5 separate regions of the Homo sapiens genome follow, and all the other regions are linked to region 1. The links are contacts of gene promoters, found by promoter capture Hi-C in human tissues and cell types (Jung and others, 2019). All regions are on one chromosome and are shown on one strand. Each heading gives the region's core, a stretch centred on a gene start or on the middle of the fragment in contact. The rest is flanking DNA. Distances are from core to core; before and after follow the strand shown. Region 1 holds the start of C21orf91 (chromosome 21 open reading frame 91). Region 2 has its middle 81 kb from the start of BTG3. Region 3 has its middle 76 kb from the start of C21orf91-OT1. Region 4 has its middle 31 kb from the start of LINC03147. Region 5 has its middle 58 kb from the start of C21orf91-OT1.

Region 1 (2,526 bases), core at 16-2,515:
AATTTCCAATCATTGAAGACATTTTAGTTTTACCTTACAATCAGTACAAAGCAGCTGTGTTAAATTCATTCCATAAGATCAAAACTATACTGTGTCCTTACCCTCAATATTTAGCTCAAAACAAATGTGGCAGAAGGAGAGTGTTTCTTTGTCTGTTCCCAGTTTACAAACACTGCAAATGTTGTCATCATTCAAATCAATGTTTACAAACTGCTCCTCTTCGTTCATAGTGCCCCTATTAAGAAACAGAAAAGGAAAGTTACACAATTTCATGAACCTGCCTTTGGGGTAGTTCCCTTTACTGGGAACTTCTAGGAAATAAGGATGCTGTTCAGCTCATTTAAAGCAAAAGCTCCATCAAACAAGCATCGCCATACTTGCACTCCAACATTGCACTTTTCCTGTGGAAAGACACAAAGCTAGTAAAACTTAAAGCCAGGCCATAGGTGACACTATGTCCGTGTCTTTTTTGTCCTATAGTTGATTGGGTTAGTGGCACCTGAAGGAAAGAGATTTGCCGGCATTCTAGTCCTCCTCCTTCGTCCCCCAACCTCGAATAATCAGAGGGCTTAGCAGCGAGGCCTTTTCAGCTACCAGGTTCTGTCAACCTAGTTAACGCTGTGAGAAACAGGAAAAACGACCTGCACGGGACACTGCTTTGCTAACTTCATTGGGGGAACCTCAGATGCGCCTCGCGAACTCGGAGTTGCGAAGCTTCGCATCGAACGGAGATCGGCGGCAGCAAAATGCACGTGGGTACCGAATACCCGGGGAGGGCGTCCCGCCGTGTCCGGGGCAACTACACCGAAGGCCGAGCGGCGGCTTCACGGTACCGGCCGGGCACCGCCGGAGGGGCCCAAGCCGGAGCTGGGAGAGCCGCGGCATCCTGGAGCCCGGCGGGCGGGAGAGCCTCGTCCCATCGCTCCGGGATTCCTCCCAGAGGGAAGAAAGCGTCCGAGGGCCACGGCGGCCGGTCCGCCCAGCCTCAGCGTCTCGGGGAGCCGGGTCCTGGCCCGGCCTTCGGCGTTGGGGGCGCGCGGCCGCCCCCAGGGAGTCGCGGACCCAAGTCCGTCTTTCCGTCGGTCTGTCCGTCGGGGCGCCTGGCGCGCAGCAGCGCGAGGGGCCACGGGGCTCGGAACTCGAAGGAGGCGGAACGATGGGACTGGGGGTCGGGGCTCAGGTGGGATGGGAGCAGGGCTGCGGGGTCTTTACCGTCCGGCTCCGCGGGCCACCACCGCCGTTCCGTGCGGCTCGGGTTCCTCCACTATTGTTTCCGGCCGCAGCAGAGGCGGCCGCCGCGCGCCTGGCCCCGCCCTCTCCCGCCGGCTCCATCCCGTAAAGGCTGCGGGGAGGGTGGCGCGGCCGCGGGCACACCTGCGCGCTCGCCGGGCTGCTGTGGGTCCGCCCCTCCGCTCCTGCACCGACGCCGCACCTTCGCCTCGAGTTCTCCTGTGATCCCGTGTTTCCTGGCCGGAGTTTCTTACCGTTCTCTGGAACGTAGCTCCTCACACACCCCTCCTCGAGGTGCGTAGATAGACGAATCCGTTCCACCTCTCCCTTCAGCCTAGTGCAAACTACTGCCCCGGGGCGGGGGCCGCAGGCGGCGGGGGTAGGAAAGCCGCGGGTGGATGGCAGAACGGGAGAGGTGCGTGGGTGGCACTTTGACTTCAGGAGAAAGAAGCAGAATACTGTCACTGAACTTATAGTTAAGTGCCAGTTGAAGTATCTAACGAAGGAAAAGTTCATATTCAGGTGTCATGATAGAGGCATAATTTCAAATACAGAATCTTTTCAAATACATTATTTGTTGTGGGGCGCCCCTGCCCCCAATATGGTACATCCCTCAACGCCCACGGGAAAAATCCCGAAGCCCCACCTCTTATTTTTAGGTCCTGCTTGGTTCTCAAATTCTTTGCTTGACTTTTGTTTAAGCTATTCTGTTTTTTTTAGGGTATGGTTCTTGCAGTACTTTCACTTACATTTTCCATTGTAGTCCTCACAGTAACCTACAGAGGAGAAACAGGAACTGTTCTCTCATGTTGCAGCCTACGAGTAATTGACCCAGGTTATCACAGTTGGTTAGAAAAAGGCTGGGACTTGAACCGAAGGCTACTGACCTAAGATCAATGTTATTTTCTACAGCATCATATGTATGTGTTCTGGTTGCACTCACATAGAAAGAGGGCTAGCCTGTCAATCTACATGTAGGCATTCTTGAACTGATGGTTAGGAATGGACTGTCTAGATCTTGGAAACTTCTGGGCCAAATTAGCACTCCAGTTATGGCATTTGTGCCTCGCAGGAGCGATCTGTGTCCTTGCCACCTAAATTGTAGTAGATGAACAAACAACATTGACATTACTTGGTTTCCTGTTAGAAATGTAGAATCTCAGGCCCCACTCGAGATTTCCTAAATCAATACTTGCACTTTAACAAGACCGCCAGGAGATTCCTATGTTCATCGAAGTTTGAGATGCACTAATTGAAATGAAAAGCCTGTGCTTTTTCTCTTCGAATTTCTCATTC
Region 2 (2,526 bases), core at 17-2,516, 130 kb before region 1:
TTTGACATCCATGGTGGAGGAACTTTGTTTAAGCCAGAAGAAAGGTTTTCCATGCGGCTCTCCTTACAGTGCTTTCTAGAGATGGGCTATGACACACAGCGACACTGGTTAATAATAGTACTTCCCTATGAGTGAACATTTTAAGTATGGTTAAAAAATAGGTAACAAATGATGCAAAAGCAATATAGCTGATCTAGCTAAAATGTTGCTTTATAAAAACTAGATATCTTGGCACCATCTTTGCCTTTGTCCCGTCTGCCTCTAATCTGTGACCAAGTTCTCAGTCCCTTCCTCTCCATTCTCTCTGCCACTACTTTGAGAAATTATTCCTTCACTGTCTTTTTCCCTAAACTATGACACCAGTTTCTTTTTTCTTTTTTTTTTTTTTTTGAGACAGAGTCTCGCACTTTCGTCCAGGCTAGAGTGCAGTGGCGGGATCTCGGCTCACTGCAAGCTCTGCCTCCCAGGTTCACGCCATTCTCCTGCCTCAGCCTCCCGAGTAGCTGGGTCTACAGGTGCCCGCCACCGCGCCCGGCTAATTTTTGTATGTTTTTTTTAGTAGAGACAGGGTTTCACCGTGTTAGCCAGGATGGTCTCGATCTCCTGACCTCGTGATCCACCCGCCTCGGCCTCCCAAAGTGCTGGGATTACAGGCGTGAGCCACCGCACCCGGCCGACACCAGTTTCTAAATGCTTTGCTGCATTTCCCCCTATTTTTTTTTTTAATAATTCATCCTCCTGAAACATAAACCCCAAAATGTCATCCACTTGCTGAAAACCTTGGTTTGCATAACTCTCTGTTTGCAACAACTGTTTTCTCTGGGGTTGTCCATATTTTGGGTTAAGACCTTCACTAATGGCCAGGACTCAGCCCACAGAAAAGGGAGTGTCAGGGTTTGGCAGATCGTTAGGCCCCAGTCAAGTAATTAAGAGTTCTTCCTGCAGCTGCCAGCTTTGGGGAAGACTGGGTCGCTGCTGATGATGTTGAGTCAGGAGCCCAGCTATGTACACTGGGCACATGTGGGGAAGGATGGGAGAAGGCTGGAGCCCCAGTGGTCATGAACTGCCCAAGCACTCAGGCAATGCACAGTAATAGCAGGACTAAGCCCAGAGCCTGCACTCTGATGGATACGAGATAACCAGCCCACTTCCTGCCTCGTTCAGGAACTCTACAAGGCCAAACCTATTCATTTTATTTATTTATTTATTTAGAGATGGAGTCTCACTCACTTTGTCATCCAGGCTGCAGTGCAGTGGCGCAATCTCGGCTTACTGCAACCTCCGCCTCCCGGATTCAAGCGATTCTTCTGCCGAAGGTGTGGTTTGCCCCTCCACACCTGTGGGTGTTTCTCGTTAGGTGGAACGAGAGACTTGGAAAAGAAAGAGACACGGAGACAAAGTATAGAGAAAGAAATACGGGGGCCCAGGGGACCAGCGTTCAGCATACGGAGGATCCCGCCGGCCTCTGAGTTCCCTTAGTATTTAGTGATCGTTCTTGGGTGTTTCTCGGAGAGGGGGATGTGGCAGGGTCATAGGATAATAGTGGACAGAAGGTCAGCAGATAAACACGTGAACAAAGGTCTCTGCATCATAGACAAGGTAAAGAATTAAGTGCTGTGCTTTAGATATGCATACACATAAACATCTCAATGCCTTAAACAGCAGTACTGCTGCCCGCGTGTCCCACCTCCAGCCCTAAGGCAGTTTTCCCCTATCCCAGTAGATGGAATGTACAATTGGGTTTTACACCGAGACATTCCATTGCCCAGGGATGGGCAGGAGACAGATGCCTTCTTCTTGTCTCAACTGCAAAGAGGCGTTCCTTCCTCTTTTACTAATCCTCCTCAGCACAGACCATTTACGGGTGTCGGGCTGGGGGACGGTCAGGTCTTTCCCTTCCCACGAGGCCATATTTCAGACTATCACATGGGGAGAAACCTTGGACAATACCTGGCTTTCCTAGGCAGAGGTCCCTGCGGCCTTCCGCAGTGTTTGTGTCCCTGGGTACTTGAGATTAGGGAGTGGTGATGACTCTTAAAGAGCATGCTGACTTCAAGCATCTGTTTAACAAAGCACATCTTGCACAGCCCTTAATCCATTTCACCCTGAGCTGACACAGCACATGTTTCAGGGAGCACAGGGTTGGGGGTAAGATTACAGATTAACAGCATCTCAAGGCAGAAGAATTTTTCTTAGTACAGAACAAAATGGAGACTCCTATGTCTACTTCTTTCTACACAGACACAGTAACAATCTGATCTCTTTTTCTTTTCCCCACATTCTGCTTCAGCCTCTTGAGCGGCTGGGACTACAGGTGTGCATCACCACACCCAGCTAATTTTCATATTTTTAGTAGACATGGGTTTTTACCATGTTGGCCAGGCTGGTCTTGAACTCCTGACCCCAAGTGATCTGCCTGCTTTGGCCTCCCAAAGTTCTGGGATTACAGGCATGAGCCACTGTGCCTGGCTCCCATTTTAGATATTGGTAACGCAAGCGGGTAAAGACTAAGAATGACTTACTCCA
Region 3 (2,526 bases), core at 10-2,509, 100 kb before region 1:
TTAAAAAGTGTTGACTGAATTTGAGGAAATCTCTAAGAGACTTCTGAGCAGCTACAATAGTCAGGTGGTCAAATAACACACCAATCTCAAACATAATAAAAGCTTCTCTGCCCTTTGAAGCAGAATTTGGAGTGTTCTGGTAAAACAACTTTCTCAATGCTCTCTGTCATATCTTGTTTTCTTTTTAACATCTCTTAATTTTATGTCTTTCTTTTCTCAATTCTCAGATTGCCAAAGAGAATATTTGAGATCTCATAGACTATTTTTTTTGAGACAGGGACTTGCTCTGTCACCCAGACTAGAGTGCAGTGGCATGATCTCAGCTCACTGCAACGTCCACCTCCTGGGTTCAAGCAGTTTCCTGCCTCATCCTCCCAAGTAGCTGGGACTACAGGCACAAGATGCCCAGCTAATTATTGTATTTTTAGTAGAGACATGTTTCACCATGTTGGCCAGGCTGGTCTCGAACTCCTGATTTCAAGTGATCCACCTGCCTTAGCCTCCCAAAGTGCTGGGATTATAGATGTGAGCCACCGTGCCTGGCCTCATAGACTACCCTCAACAACAAATGTGGATACCCATATTTTCTAGGGGATGATGGTTGGGAGGGATATAATCAAGGATATTTATCCTAATCATTACAGGTTCTGGCTAAGAGCCTTTACTAGAGTAATTCCTCAGTTTCAGATCAAAATTTTAAACTAATTATTGGCGTTGCTTTTTGGATATTGGAATGGCATTCCCCTATGAGCTTCCTAGGGCTACCATAACAAAATACCACAAAACTGGGTGGCTTAAAGCAACAAAAATTTATTCTTTCATGGTTCTAGAGGTTGGAAGTCTGAAATCCAGGTGTTAGTAGGATTGGTTCATTCTGGAGGATGTGAGAAAGAATTTGCTCTATGCCTGTCTTTTAGCTTCTGGTAGCTTCTGGCAATCCTTGGCGTTCATGACTTATAGACACATCACTTCAATCTCTGCCTCCAACTTCACATGGCCATCTCCATTTATGTGTGTCTTCAGGGAGTGTCTTCAACTCCCTTTCCCCTTATGAGGACATCAATCATAAGATTTAGGGCCTATTGAAGTTTATAGCATTGAATGCCTACACAAAACACACACAAAAATAGACAGATCACAAATTAACAACCTAATGTCACATCTCAAGCAACTAGAAAAACAAGAACAAACCAAACCCAAAGCTAGCAGAAGAAAAGAAATAACAACGATCAGAGGAGAACTAAATGAAATTGAGACCAAAAACAAAACCCAGTGGATCAATGAAACAAAAAGTTTGTTCTTTGAAAAGATGAAATTGATAACCACTAGCTAGACTAAGAAAAAAAGAAGAGGGCAGATCCAAATAAACACAATCAGAAATAAAAAAGAAGATATTACCGCTGAGACCACAGAAATACAAAAGATCATCAGAGATTTATAAACAACTGTATGCTCACAAACTAGAAAACCTAAAGAAATTGGATAAATTCCTGGAACATACAACCTTCTAGGATTGAACTGGGAAGAAATAGAAATTATGAACAGACCAATAATGAGTAGTGAGATCAGTAATGAAAAACCCTCCCAGCAACAATAAAAAAAGACCAGGACTGAATGGATTCACAGGCGAATTCTACCAAATGTACAAAGAAGAACTGGTACCCATCCTCCAGAAACTGTTCTAAAAAATCAAGGAGGAGGAAGTTATCTCTAACTCATTCTTTTTAATTTTTTTTTTCTTTTCCTTGAGATAGAATCTCACTCTCCTCCTGGGTTCAAGCAATTCTCATGCCTCTGCCGCCCAAATAGCTGGGATTACAGGTATGTGCCACCATGCCCGGCTAATTTTTGCATTTTTTTTCTTTGGAAGAGACAGGGTTTCGCCATGTTGTCCAAGCTAGTCTTGAACTCCTGGCCTCAAGTGATCCCCCTGCCTCGGCCTCCCAAAGTTCTGGGATTATTTAAGTGAGCTACCATGCCTGGCCCAATTCCCTAACTCATTCTATGAGGCCAGGATCACCCTGATACTAAGGCCAGACAAGGACACAACAACAAAAGAACCTACAGACCAATATCCCTGATGAACGTAGATGGAAAAGTCCTCAACAAAATACTAGCAAACCCAACCCAACAATATATAAAAAAGATAATACACCATGATGAAGCGAGTTTTATTCCAGGGGTACAAAGACAGTTCAACACACATAATCAATAAATGTGATTCATCACATAAACAGAATTAAGGATGAAAACCAGATGATTACCTCAATAGATGCAAAAAAAAGCATTTGATAAAATTCAAAATCCCTTCATAATAAAAACACTTGACAAACTAGACACAGAAGGAGTATACCTCAAAATAATAAAGGCAGTGTATGACAAACCTACAACCAATATTATACTAAATGGGGAGAAGTTGAAAGCATTCCCCCTAAGAACTGGAAGAAGACAAGTATGCACACTTTTACCTCTCTTATATATCATAATACTGGAAGCCTTGGCCAGAGACATAAGGCAAAAAAAAAA
Region 4 (2,526 bases), core at 15-2,514, 97 kb after region 1:
TTGGCGTGAGGAGGGGAAGGAACTGGTAGAGATGGTGGGTGGGTCATTGACTGAATGGCCTAGTGGTGGCATCTTCAGGTGAGGCACATATATGAGGAGGAGAGGAGAGTTCTTCCTAAGGGGCAAGTAAAGAGAAGGTGAATAAAAGGAAGGCTGCTATTCGAGAATGGTGCAGTGGAGAGGAAACAGGAAAAAAAATTGAGGAAGATTTCTCCCATTTAATGAAGTACTTCAGTATGTCTAATTGGAAGTATACATTATTAGTGGAAGTCTTTGAAATGAATTCCTCAGCAAAGCCTAAGGTAGTTTAAGAATTTAATCTCTGTTTTTCCTCTTTCACTCATGGATATGCTTATGTATTATTATCAAGTGGACCAGTTGATTCTCTAGTTGGTTTTGTTGTGACATAAAATGTCTGTTTAAGTGATCTTTTTACGTGGTAAATATGGTACTTTATAGATTTTTGAAATCTCAACTTTTTCTGTCCTGATATTTGCCTTCATCCTTTTTCCCTTTCCTCTCTTCAAGAAGCTGTGCTGTTTGTGGTCATTTCCTATAGAGGAATGTGGAGCATGAAGGTTTGGTGAAAACATATATGTTTCCATTCTTTCTCAGGCTTTTCTTTTCCAGAATGCTAAGCCTCAAAGAGAATAAAAAGCCAGAGCTGAGGTTTTGAGGAGGTTAAAGCTTTTCCAGGCAGAGAGAAAAATTCAGATGAATTTGTGAAATTTGTGAGTAAAGTGATCTGTGCCTTGCTCCCTAGGAATAACACTGGAGAGATGAGAAGATCCCATCTGCCTCTGTCGCCTGGATGAATCTTGACTTACCCGCTGTGCTGCCTGTCTTTGAGCTTATAAGCCTATAACCTAACAATGCTTCAGTCATTAGAGATATACATTCCGGTATATAGGACTATTAAGAACGCTTAACCATTCTCCTTAAGTGTCATATTTGGCAATAAATGACCGCATGGCATGTCTAGGTACCTGGTACACCTTAGACAATCATACAGATGTTCTGTACCCCCAGCATGGTATGAATGTAGAGTGAGTCTTAATCGCCAGTAGTCTCCCAGAAGCAGCAGAGATTGTGTTGGACCTGAAGGAGCCATGCAGACAGGGATGAGGCATGTCTCCTTCAGAGGAGGCAATGGGTATACCAGTGTGTGTCCCCAGGCTCAGATTACACACAGAGCCAGATGGTCTCCTTCTGATGCTTGGATACCGCAAATAGCCCCAGAACTTAAATGCAACCTCAGAGGAAAGTGGCAAGGGAGCCCAGATTAACCGAGATTAAGAAAAAGAACCTTATTTTTTTCCAGTTTATATCCAGATTGTCTCCAAGTCATTTATTACAAATTCATCTTTTTTTCAACTGATTGAAAACAACATCACATGATATACTAAAAATTATTTTATATATTTAGGTCTATATTTGGGCTTTCTTTTCTATCCCAGTGAATTATTTATCTATTTTTGAACAGGCACTGTATTTTCTTAATGTTGTAGCTTTATAATATATTTTATGACTTGTAGAGCTACTTCCTCCTTGTTACTGTTTTTTTTTTAGATTTTTTAAAATTATTTTTGCTCATATTTTTATAGAAACTTTAAGATTAGCTTCAGTAGTTCAAATTATTGCTAGTATTTTTACTAGAATCAATTTAAAGTTATGAATTAATGGAGGTTTCCAGCTTTATCATGTTGATTTTTCCTATTCAGAAACATGGTATGCTTTTTTTATTCGTTCATACCTATTTTTGTTGTTGTTGTTCATTACTAGTGTTACATAGTTTCTTCACATACATTTTGCACATTTCTTATTAGGTTTCCTGTGTATAAGTCAGAGTCCCAGCAAGAAAGGTATAGCAAATATTCCAATGGGCTAATGGAGGGGAGTTTGATGAAGGGATTATTTTCAAAGGTGAGGAAAGGGTTAAGGAGACTCAACAAGGGACAGTGTAAAGGCTAATTTTAGGTGTACACTTGACTGCATTAAGTAATATCCAGAGAGCCGGTAAAGCATTATTTCTGGGTCTATGAGGGCGATTTTGGAAAAGATTGACATTTGAGCCAGCAGACTACGTAAGGAAGATCCACTCTCACTGAATGTGAGCGAGCACCATCCAATCAGCTGAGGGCCCAGATAGAACAAAAAGGCAGAAGAAAATCAGATTCACTCTCTCTCTTCTGGAGCTGAAACAACTTTCTTTTCCTGCCATAGGACATCAGGACCCCAGGTTCTCTGGTCTTGGGACTCTGAGACTTGCACCAGGAATCCTGCCCAGGCTCTCAGGCCTTTGGACTCAGACTGAGCTACTTCACTGGCTTTCCTGGTTCTCCAGCTTGAAGATGGCAGATCGTGGGACTTCTCAGCCTCCATAATTGAGTGAGCCAATTCCCTGGTAAGTCCCCTCTCACGTATTTATATCTATATCCTTATACTATTTGTTCTGTTTCTCTGAAAAACCCTGAAGAACACAGCAGTAAAATAACCTGGGGCTAGCGACCACAGAGAGTAACAAGA
Region 5 (2,526 bases), core at 9-2,508, 85 kb before region 1:
AAAGCCTCCCTTCCACTTCTAAGATGCCTGGAAATATGGTAGATTTGGTTAATTGTCCCCATAATTATCTCTCTTTTTCTTCTTGAGTTGTAGCCCCCCAGCTGGACTACATTCCCCAGCCTTCTCTAGGTTAGGAGTAGCCATGTGGCTAAGTTTGGTTAATGGGTTGCAAATTAAAATGATGTAGGCAATTGTGTACAATGTCCTTAACTATAAGACCCTGCTTCCTAATCTTTCCTCTTCTCTCTGGGCTGGCGTGCAGATGTGGTGGATCCTGTTTTTGCCTAATGACATGGGCAAACCCAAGAACAGCAAGATAGCAGCCTGGGCCCTCAATTTCATGACATCTTTTGACTGTTTCAGGAGAGAAAAATAAGGAATAATTTTTTTTGAGCTATTGCATTTTCGAAATCTTCTTGTAAAAATAGCTTAGCTTGTGCCCTAACCAACACAGTGAAATATGGGCAAGTCACCACCTCTCAAAACTTCCATTTCCTCACGTGTAAAATAAGGGCGATAATATCAAGCCTGGCAACACATGTAGCTGTTCTGAGTATTAAATAAAATCATATAGATCAGAGACGAATACATTGCGTAATATAAAATGTTATTTTATATTTTAGTATTGCAGCTGCCAGAGGGGAGAAAATAAGATGAAGGTTTTATTTCTTATTTTGTACATAAACATTTTATTTTAGAATAAGCTAAGATTAATAGAGAATTAGCAAAATAAGTAGTGAGTTTCTGTATACCCCTCAATCAGTTTCTCTAATGTTAACCATTTACATTCTCATGACAGATTTGTCAAAACTAAAACCCAGCATTGGTACTTTACTACGCTTAGGTTATTTGGATGTCACTAGTTTTTCCATGAATGTCCTTTTTCTCTTCCAGGATCCAATGCAGGAGATAATATTGCATTTGTTGCCATTTCTTTTAGTCTGTTCTGTTCCGAATACTTTCTCAGTCTTTCTTTATTTGTCATGATCTTGACAAATTCAGGGAGTACTGGCCAGGTATTTTGTAGAAGGTTTCTCTGTTTGAGTTTGTGTTTTCATGATTAGATTGGGGTGATCGAGGTGGGGGGATGTGTATTAGTCTGTTCTCACATTGCTGTAAAGAAATACCTGAGACTGGGTAATTTATAAAGAAAAGAGGTTTAATTGGCTCGTGGTTCTGCAGACCGTCTGGGAAGCATGGCAGCTTCTGCTTCTGGGGAGGCTTCTGGAAGATTCCTGTCATGGCAGAAGGCAAAGGGGAGCCAGCGCTTCACATGGCCAGAGCAGGAGGAAGAGAGAGGAGGGAGGTGCCACACACTTTTCAACAAGCAGATCTCACTATTGCAATGACAGCTCCAAGGGGAATGGCGATAAACCATGAGAAACTGCCCCCATGAGCTAATCACCTCTCACCAGGCCCCACCTCCAGCATTGGGGATTACATTTCAACATGAGGTTTGGACGGGGACACAGTTCCAACCCATACTGGGGGAGGATTTTATTTTTAATGAAAAGGGTAATTCGGAATAAAAATGCAGTGTGTGTGAGAGAATAAACCTCGTTTTTCAATTTGATTGCCTTATCAACTCTAATTGCTGTTCTAGGTAGTGTGCCCCTCTTGTAGAGTAGAATTGCTTACTCAAGTTCCATGAGGTACCTTTGAGAATCACCACAATGCATTCAGCCTCCTGTTTTTGTCCTGGTACCTCTGGAGAAGACTGAGCTGCTCTCTGCTGCTTCCTTGTCACAGTCATTCTGGAAAGATGTCTAAAAAGCACTGGGTTGTGAATCTGGAACTTGATAACAGGTAGACCAGTGTCTAGTCCAGTTGAACAGAAAAGAGTATATTTTAGAAAAACTGTCCATTGACAGCTTCGTACCACAGTGAACTGATCAGCAAATCCTCAACACATTGGGACGGTTTTATTGTTATTGTTTTGTTTTTTTTAGAGTGAGGGAGGGAGGTTAGAAGGAAGGGCGAGAGGGAAAGAGGAACAGAGGACAATTAAAGCAAATGTGAATTATAGATGAGAAAAGAGATGGGACTTGGTGAATTTAGAATCTTAAGGAAAACTCTAGGTGAAGAGGGAGACTAAAATCTTTTCTTGGATGCTGACCTATAGTTTGACTCCCCAGATACAATAAGGAGAAAGCAGTATTTTGATTGGGACAGGAATTAACCTATTTCTTTCTATATTTACTTTTCAAGTTGAGCAAGATCTGGGAAAGGGCCTGCTAGCATATTTTGTTTTTACTATTTCAAACAAAGATATCCATCTTGAATGGCATTAGACTTTCAAAAAAATTTAGTGTGTTATTTCTTTCTGGCTATCCAAGGTCTTGATTATACAAAATTCCCATCAGAACACCCACACACTCTCTCTCTCTCTCTCCTATACTTAAGAAAAAAATCTAAATAGAGAAGACTATGACTGAAGAGAGCTTAATTTTGATTAAATTTCGGGGTCCATTCTTTCAAGAGCTCTTTCAGCTAAATGCTCAAATCCAATCTGTGGGTAGCTCTCAG

The links. Contacts are between HindIII fragments. The study calls those that stand out against the background at their distance.
Region 2: a contact is called between a fragment that was not itself captured here and the fragment with the promoter of C21orf91 in region 1, in 2 of the 25 tissues and cell types used here (aorta and lymphoblastoid cells).
Region 3: a fragment that was not itself captured here is called in contact with the fragment with the promoter of C21orf91 in region 1 in 2 of the 25 tissues and cell types used here (lymphoblastoid cells and spleen).
Region 4: a contact is called between a fragment that was not itself captured here and the fragment with the promoter of C21orf91 in region 1, in 2 of the 25 tissues and cell types used here (dorsolateral prefrontal cortex and spleen).
Region 5: a fragment that was not itself captured here is called in contact with the fragment with the promoter of C21orf91 in region 1 in 4 of the 25 tissues and cell types used here (bladder, lymphoblastoid cells, mesendoderm cells and 1 more).

The regions. Positions count from the first base shown.
Region 1 is chr21:17,818,091-17,820,616 of GRCh38, forward strand. It overlaps C21orf91 (chromosome 21 open reading frame 91), which reads right to left and starts at 1,266. Exons shown (of 5, transcript NM_001100420.2): 1 at 1,213-1,266; 2 at 102-235. The coding sequence starts at 228. The region is part of intron 2 of LOC124900465 (a long non-coding RNA gene); the gene reads left to right. RefSeq lists a silencer at 881-1,660 and an enhancer at 1,911-1,960. The HindIII fragment of the contact is 15,791 bases long and covers 1-2,526 here.
Region 2 is chr21:17,692,905-17,695,430 of GRCh38, forward strand. No RefSeq gene overlaps it. Among named protein-coding and RNA genes, the nearest start is that of BTG3, 81 kb to the left of the region's middle. The HindIII fragment of the contact is 9,859 bases long and covers 1-2,526 here.
Region 3 is chr21:17,715,123-17,717,648 of GRCh38, forward strand. No RefSeq gene overlaps it. Among named protein-coding and RNA genes, the nearest start is that of C21orf91-OT1, 76 kb to the right of the region's middle. The HindIII fragment of the contact is 7,162 bases long and covers 1-2,526 here.
Region 4 is chr21:17,914,997-17,917,522 of GRCh38, forward strand. It overlaps a transcript of CHODL not described here. Among named protein-coding and RNA genes, the nearest start is that of LINC03147, 31 kb to the left of the region's middle. The HindIII fragment of the contact is 4,822 bases long and covers 1-2,526 here.
Region 5 is chr21:17,732,842-17,735,367 of GRCh38, forward strand. No RefSeq gene overlaps it. Among named protein-coding and RNA genes, the nearest start is that of C21orf91-OT1, 58 kb to the right of the region's middle. The HindIII fragment of the contact is 6,428 bases long and covers 1-2,526 here.